Regions from separate parts of the Homo sapiens genome. Here all the other regions are linked to region 2. The links are contacts of gene promoters, found by promoter capture Hi-C in human tissues and cell types (Jung and others, 2019). All regions are on one chromosome and are shown on one strand. The core of a region is centred on a gene start or on the middle of the fragment in contact, and the rest is flanking DNA. Distances in the headings are between cores, read along the strand shown.

Region 1 (2,700 bases), core at 7-2,506, 300 kb before region 2:
ATTAATCTTCCAGACCGGTTTGCAGACCCAGACACCTATGCCAGTGGGAAACTGGTGAGTGGAACCCTATGTGAGTATCCTGAGAGTATAAGAAAGCATCACACGGACAGGGACACCTGGAAAACCTAGTACTGATCACCACACACCAGCAACTTTTTGTGTTTCCCTTTTTCTCATCAAAGGTAAACTACACTGAAACAATTCTACTGTAGTGCTAACATTTAGGGCATAAAAAATCCTTTTGAGAGTCTGATGAAATCCATGATCTTTTCCCTAAAAATCTGGACATATGCACACAATTTTTGCCACATTTCTAAGAAGTTCATTTATTCCCTGAAATAAAAATCCAACGTTAAATAACAATTAAAATCCCTGCTTTAATGTGAATCTGTATTGGTGGATACAACAATAGTGATTTATAATAAAGTCACTAGGTTCTCCCTATTTTCCTGCCTGTGGTTAGTGATGTATTTATTTAGAAGTCATAAGTACAGTCTTCTAGTGCCATTTTTGTGAGCACAATGACTCATTGTAAAAATAATATTTCTACGTATAACATCTTTCTTTCCTCCACATAGTTCTATGGAAATTATCTCATAAATTGTTCCAGGTTCCCTAGAAACTGGATTAAGGAATATATTATTGCCTTCCTTTACAAGGAAGGCATGATTCAAATGCAAAATACAGAAGAGTCTGGGAAAATGGCTGAGATATTGGGGAATGATTGAATTCAATCAGAAATCAGAATTATTTCACTCAACAGGGAGTTATGTATTATATGCCTGCTATGTGTCAGGCATTGTACTAGGCATGGGGTCGGCTAGCTCTCAGCCTGCTATCTAGCCCCCAAGTCTGTTCCAAGAGGAGAAACTATATTCAATTTGAAAATTGACTGGAGAAAGTACAGTATCCCTAACTCAGTAATAATATCCTACATTTTAACAGCATACACGGAGACAGTGTAGTGTGGGTTGACACAATTTTTGAAAGTAAGCAAAACTGGATTCAGATCCTGATTTCAGCACTTATTGAATGGCCTTAGTTAAATTCCTGAAGCTTTTGATCTTTAGTTTTCTTATCTGTAAAATAGAAATTACTTTTAGAGGCTGGGCCCACAGTGGCTCATGCCTGTAATCCCAGCACTTTGGGATGCTGAAAGGAGCAGATCATTTGAGGTCAGGAGTTCAAGACCAGCCTGGTCAACATGGTGAAACCCCGTCTCTACTAAAAATACAAAAATTAGCTGGTCATGGTGGTGGGTGCCTGTAATCCCAGCTACTTGGGAGGCTGAGGCAGGAAAATCGCTTGAATCTGGGAGGTGGATGTTGCAGTGAGCTGAGATTTTGCCACTGCACTCTAGCCTGGGCAGCAGAACGAGACTCCATCTCAAAAAAAAGAAATTACTTCTAGAGCAAGAGTTAGCAAACTACAGCTCTGTGGGCCAAGTTCAGCCATATGTGTGTTTTTTTGTGTGATCCTTGAGCTAAAAATGTTTTCTGCATTTGTAAAGGGGTATAAAAACAAATAACAACAATCAAACAGGAAAACAAGGAAAGCAAAAAAGAATATGCAACAAAGACTCTATGTGGCTTCAAGGCCTAAAATACTTACATCTAGCCCTTCACAGAAAAAGTTTGCTAACTCTAAAAAAGTTGGCAACTCCTATTCTATAGTCAGAATGCCTGCATTTGAATCCTTATGGCCTCTTACCGTCAGTATGATCTTGAGCAAATTGCCAAACTTCTGTATCTAATTTTCCTCATATGTCAAGTAGAGATGATAATAGCACTTATTTTACATGATGGGAAGCTGCATATGTTAATATGCTTAAAATGCTGAAAAAGGAGGCTTATATATAGTAAATATTTAAGAAATGTTAGCTATCTTTATTAATAGCACCGTTACCACTGTCATCAGTTATTCAAAAATACTTGTGAATATTAAATAAGATAGTGACCATCAAACAAATAGGACAGTGCCCTTCTCACAATAGGTTCTCAATAACTGTCAGCTATCATTGCTGTTGTCATCACCATCACCATCACCATTATCATCATTATAATTTTCAAAGCTCTTTCACGTACATCATCTCACTAGAAGCTCCCAACCACCCTGTTGTTGCTGTTGTGATCTCCCTCTGATACATGAGAAAATGAAGCTTGGAGAAATGAAGAGTTAGATACTGAGCCAGGAAGAGGCGGAATGTGGACTAGCGCCAGAGATTTTGCATTCTGGACCAATGTGTCCTCTTTCCACATCATACTGCCTCTCCATCAAAATATCTGAGGATCTGTTGTTTGTTAGTTTTCTCCAAATGATATACTTTGCATCCTAGGAGCCTGACAAGGCAGGCAAACATGACTATGTTCCTCCCTGGCATGGTTATGCAGACAGGAAGCTGGGATAATTGGATTCCAGCCATTTGGTCTCAGGACTGCATTTGTAACCAGCCAACTGCTGATGACCAAGCCTAGTGGATAAAGCTCTGACCAAACAAACACAACCCCCGTGTAGGAACTTATTGTTTATGCTGCAGAGCTGGCTTCAGAATGTGCCAGGACTCAGACTGCCACTACGACAAGCAGAGCTTTTGGACTGGGGAAATGTTCAGGTGAGGAGGCAAGACATTTTTGACAGCAGATCTTGTGTAGTCAGATCAGAACCGTTTTATTATTTGGTGTAGGCCAAAGGCTATGGCAA
Region 2 (2,700 bases), core at 124-2,623:
CACATATATATATATTCATCCCAGTTAAAGAACAATTTCAAAGCATTCTCTCTCAGATTATGATGTAAAAGCCCACAAATCAATTTCAACTGCTGGCCAAGACCAGCTAAATTACTCACCAGAAGATAACACCAAATGTATCAAGATAAAGGACAAAAGTGAGAATACTGGGAAAGATTTGGCCATTTTTCCTCCTGGTGTGTCCTTGGAATGATGCTCTGAAATATTGTCTCAGGTTGTTGCCCTCTAATACAATCACTAAAGTAGAGACAATCAGGATTTAAGATGACTTTTACAATGAAGAGCCATCTCTACTCCACCCATTGTATCCTCAGTACTATGTATTTGGAAAGCCTATTCCATTCTTCTTCAGAAACAAATGTTTAAAAAGTTAAACCTTGAATAACTATCTTGATTAAAAGTATAGAGCTCAGTAACAGATCTTTGAATACTCAGAAGTAAATCATAGGTTACTCTGTGGGCATAAGTGTATTATTTTAGTGGGAAAACATTTTACATGTCATGAAAAAGCAACTCCTTACCTGAAGCTTCACCTAAATTTATCTTTTGAGGGGATGCAAAAAAAAAGATGGGGCTATTGAGGTCCCTAGACAACATGAACTTCTCAATAAGTGGAGTGGATCTGTACTTGCTCGTCAAGCAAAGAATACCTCTTTGGATTAAGACAAAGATTTCTGATGATTCAGGCATGCTTGTCTATACCAAGGATCTTCTGATGTTGAATCCCAGACTCTTTGAGGACATTCACAGGGAGAAAAATCATTATCTGCCATCTCACTGGGGTCCCACAGCTATTTTAATCCAGACACAGAAAGGGAAAAGTCAGAGAGCAAATCCTCCCTCGGGATGGACTTTCCTTGTAGCAACATTTCTGACCCCAGAGAATGGAAACTGCAGTTTCCAGGGCCTGACCAAGGACCACATTTAACTGTTCCTCCATTCCTAATTCTAGAAAAGTAGCCTGGTCTTCCATATGTTCTCTAGGCTTTTATCTCTGTCTGCAACACATGTCAATGGATAATTTATATAAACTCTGCTGATGTGCTCTGATGTGGCAGGTGTTACTTAAGACATTAAAATGTAGCCAGAGTATTCTACTCTCAGGATGATTGCAAGTTCTTTGTACACTATGAAAGGTTGCCTACCATGCCTACTCCTGGCACAATCTGGGACACCATGTTTTGCTAAACACACCCCCATCTCATCCTGATATTTTCCCTGGCTTCCTCCAGAAATGGAACAGGAACAGTACAAGTTCAGCTGCAGCCAGAAAACTAGAGCAAAACACAGAGGCCCACTCTCTCCATCCCTCATGTCACAGCTGACCCACCTCAGAAAGAAGAGAAAAGGAAGAGGAATATAATGTGCTCCTTCTAAGAAGCATGTATTAGGGCCCCAGGAGGAAATAGAGTAACTGCTGCGTAGGACAGAAAAGTCACTGAGGCATTGTGTGCTGGACTGAGCAGGCCCTGGAGATCCATCATTCAGATTGCATCAAACCTCAGCAGGGGAAGACCTGAGGAGGGTAAGAAGAGATCACTGGAAAGGGCAGCCATTAGCAGGCAATTCAAGAGAGGCAATAGCATGAGAAAACATCCCACAGTAGGAAAGAGCAAGCAGAAAGAATATAACATGTTCCACAACAATAATTAGTATCAAGACCAGGACCAGTATTAGGACCAGAATGAAAACATGTGTGGAAACATCTAATAAAGAAAAGGCTGGTACAGGAGGTTGCAGTGACAGATGAGATCCTTGGATACCATTTGCAGTAGATCCAGCCTTGTGCCTGTAGTAACCCAGAGCCTTTGCCATTTTAACAGGGAAGATATATTATTATAGCTTAAGGTCCTCCTATTATCTGAACTTCTGGCCTCTACCATTCCTTCTGTAAAAAGCTATTTTTCTTATACAAAGAAAATATATGCTCACTTAGAAAATTTATAAAATAGAAATATACAAAAAAGAGAGGGAGGCGGAGCAAGTAGAAACATACAAATAGAAATGGCCAAATAGAAATATGAAAAAAAAGAAACATACAAAATGAAATAAAATATATAAAACAAAAAATATACAAATGAAATAAAAAGGTGTGAAATCTTACAACTCAGAGGTACCTATTAAATATATATAAAATTATATTCTTCCAGTTTAAATATATATACATAATCACACAGGTACATATGTTTTATTACAATATTCAACTTTTATAATATATATTGTTTTTTCACTTAGAAATGCACTATTACATTTTCTTGATCTCTAAATATATTGAACATGAATTTAGATGCCTGGTGTCATATTCCATCACATATGTGGATTTTAATTATACTAATATTCTTTAATTGTTGCTCAATTAGGGTGATGCCAATTTTTTATTGTTATTAATAGTGCTAGCATAGGCAGATTTTTATTTACCTCAGTTAACTTGTCTTTTAATATTTTATTTTAATAAATGCCTGTAAATAAACCCATTGAAAACTTCCAGAAAGAACTTAGGTCACCTAGAATATGAGAGAGGTGGTGGTTTTCATCACATTTCTGGGCTCCATACTTGTAATTCTGGGCTCCATACTTACAAGAAATATTTTGAAAACAACCTGCTATCTTCCTGAGTAGATCATTTGTTCCCCAGTTTGGAAAGGTAGATGCATCCTGTTGTTTAGAAAGGATTCTGAA
Region 3 (2,700 bases), core at 1-2,500, 320 kb before region 2:
AATCAATGGAAACTGCTACATTGTTATCATAAGTATTTGCATAGCATCATTCATATCTTGGTAAAACATCTTCCTCCAGGTCTCCAGTTATTTTCTCAGCTTCCTGATAAGAATTTCTTAAGAAATGAGTCAATAGAAATCTCCATGTTCTAAACACTTCTCCTGAAACAAGGGATGCAGGGCTCCTCTACTAGAAGAAAAGCCAGAAATAAATTAATCACACTGTTTATAAACAATTGTTTAAGCAACATGAGACAAGACTTGTTTCCTGGGTACATCATACCCTGTGCTGAACAGTTGGGGCTGTTATTTTGAATATGCCTTCTGGATTTTAAATTACCTGTAGGCATTTCTTTGACCCAACATAAAATATACTAGCCATGTCAAACAAGTTGAGCACATTCCGTGTGTGTTTGTTTTCCCCCTTTTGCTCCGTAGGTGCACCCACTGTCAGGGTGTCGAGGTTCTGTGTACCAGCCCTCAGAGATCAGCGCTCGCAGTAAAAAGGGATTATGCATGCCACCCTGCAGGGCAAGCCCCCAAACAACACTCAGCTCCAGAAATGCCCAACGTGGTTTATTTGAGGTCAAAGATAGAGGCAGTGTGATGTGGTGCCCTGGCCTTCAACCCTGGCTGCACATTACAGCCACCTGGGGCCTCTTAAGCAATACCTGAGCCTGAGCTCTGCTTGTAGAGATTCCATTTTAATTGGGTCTGGTTGGGAAGCAGAAATCCATTTATTTTAGGAGCTTGAGTGCGCAGCAGGGTTAACAACCGCTGGTGTCCTGGAAAGAGCAGGAGGCCTGTCTTCTAATCCCTTAGTGATCATCAGGAAGTCATTACCTCTCCCAACACCAATAAAATGAGGAAGTTGAATTAGATAATGCTTTAAGTTTAGATCTAGCTGCATGTCTTAGATCACTGAGATTGTGTGGGTTTAAACCAGTAGTTCTTTATCAGGAATGATCTTGTTTACCAGAGAACATTTGGCAATATCTGGTGGCATTTTTGGTTGTCACAACGTGGGAATACTATTGGTATATAGTGGGTGGAGGCCAGGGACGCTGCTAATCATCCGACAATGCATGGAACACCCCAGAGCAAAGAATTTCCTGGCCCCAGATTTCCAGATAGTGCCGAGGTTAAGAAACCCTGCTTCAAACTAGTCCTCTGAGCTTTACAACAGAGAACTTCCTTGCCACTGCCAAGGACAGCAGGAGAGGTCTTTCAACAGTACCAGGAGGTTCAGCCCCTGCACCATTTGGCTCCTTTTAATCCTCATACATTCTTAAGGCAAGACCAAAAAAAAAAAAATATATAGCGCCGTAGAAGGCGACTGATACGGTTTCTAGGAGGAAGGGTCCTGAACTTCTGTGGTTAGAGTACCGGCAGTAACCTTGCAGATAAGCCCTTTCCACTAGGCAGGCTCTAGGAGCTTGTTCTCTTACAGCATGTACTTGGCGAGGACACAGACCTTCCAATTTAGTCAGAGCAGCTGTTCAGGAAGAAATCTCCTCCAAAGCACACTGAGATACCCATTGGAAAACCATATTCCCATGTAAATGTGTGTTTAGTCCATGGTGCAATGTGCAGGTACCTGGTCCATGGAAATGATAAAAGCTTCATCTTATACCGGGAATTGACAAGCCGGAGTATGTTCAGAAGAGGGTAAATGCCATGATTTTCTCTACAGAATTTATGACATATAAATAACAGTAGAAGGAACTGGGGATGCTGAGCTTAGAGCAAAGAGGTTTTAGGTCATAATTATTGTTTTTATATATTTAAAGGGCTGTTAGAGGAAACAGGAATTCGACTTCTTCTGCATAATGTGAGGGAGAGAGGTAAGAAACAAAGGATTGAGGTTATAAGAACATGTATTTCAGCACAAAATGGAATGGATTGCCTTACTAGGGAGTTCCTAGTAAAGTTGAAGGAGACAATTGGATGACCATCAGTCAATTAAAAGTGTTGATTGACCGAATATCAGTAACTGGAAGAACTGAATGTTCATTAGTCAACATTTCTGGGGAAGAGGTGAGTAGATTGAATAACACGTTCTCAGCCCCTTTTTTTGTGATTCTGTGAGTTACAAAATCATAAGCATCGTCCCACAGTGCAGTTAAGTGTAGGGGACAGCAAACTCTATTTCAGCCAGTGTAACATTTTGTTTGGTTGAAGCTGGAGAATTTCTGGAAATATTACTAATGAGAAGACATATGTCAGAAATGATACTGTCAATTTTAGGGGGCCATTCTGCTTTCCTTTACTGAATCTTTGGCAATCTGGGGTTGGTAGAAAATGTAGACATTTCCAAAGGAGAAATATCTCCATAGATGCTTAGTGGTAAACAGCTAATTTGATGCCTGAGATTGCATTTGGAAAAAATATTGGATATATTTACTGATCAGGATATATATACATATATATATGTATATATATACACACACACATACATATATATGTATATGTATATTATATATTATATATATACATGTATATGTATATATACATTTGCATGACTTTCCAAAAGGGTGAGTTCTAGAATTGAACTGAAAGGCTATTCACACATTTTGGTGATTTTAGGATGCTCTTTCCTTGACAGAGTTGCAAATTATAAATTATTTTCTCTGCCTCTGGTTTTCTTTTGGGACTATGTATATAATATAGCCATAAAGGGAGAAGCTGCTTCGTGTTTAT

What was found. The method cuts DNA at HindIII sites, captures the fragments that hold promoters and counts their contacts. A contact is called where the count stands out against the background at its distance.
Region 1: a fragment that was not itself captured here is called in contact with the fragment with the promoter of SPINK14 in region 2 in 1 of the 25 tissues and cell types used here (heart right ventricle).
Region 3: a contact is called between a fragment that was not itself captured here and the fragment with the promoter of SPINK14 in region 2, in 1 of the 25 tissues and cell types used here (spleen).

Annotation. Positions count from the first base shown.
Region 1 is chr5:148,469,395-148,472,094 of GRCh38, reverse strand. All of the region lies in intron 2 of LOC107986462 (a long non-coding RNA gene), which reads right to left. It also overlaps a transcript of HTR4 not described here. Among named protein-coding and RNA genes, the nearest start is that of FBXO38, 87 kb to the right of the region's middle. The HindIII fragment of the contact is 5,700 bases long and covers 1-2,700 here.
Region 2 is chr5:148,167,219-148,169,918 of GRCh38, reverse strand. It overlaps SPINK14 (serine peptidase inhibitor Kazal type 14 (putative)), which reads right to left and starts at 1,373. Exons shown (of 5, transcript NM_001001325.2): 1 at 1,352-1,373; 2 at 120-258. The coding sequence starts at 186. The HindIII fragment of the contact is 5,009 bases long and covers 1-2,396 here.
Region 3 is chr5:148,489,937-148,492,636 of GRCh38, reverse strand. The region is part of intron 6 of HTR4 (5-hydroxytryptamine receptor 4); the gene reads left to right. All of the region lies in intron 2 of LOC107986462 (a long non-coding RNA gene), which reads right to left. Among named protein-coding and RNA genes, the nearest start is that of FBXO38, 110 kb to the right of the region's middle. The HindIII fragment of the contact is 3,001 bases long and covers 1-2,700 here.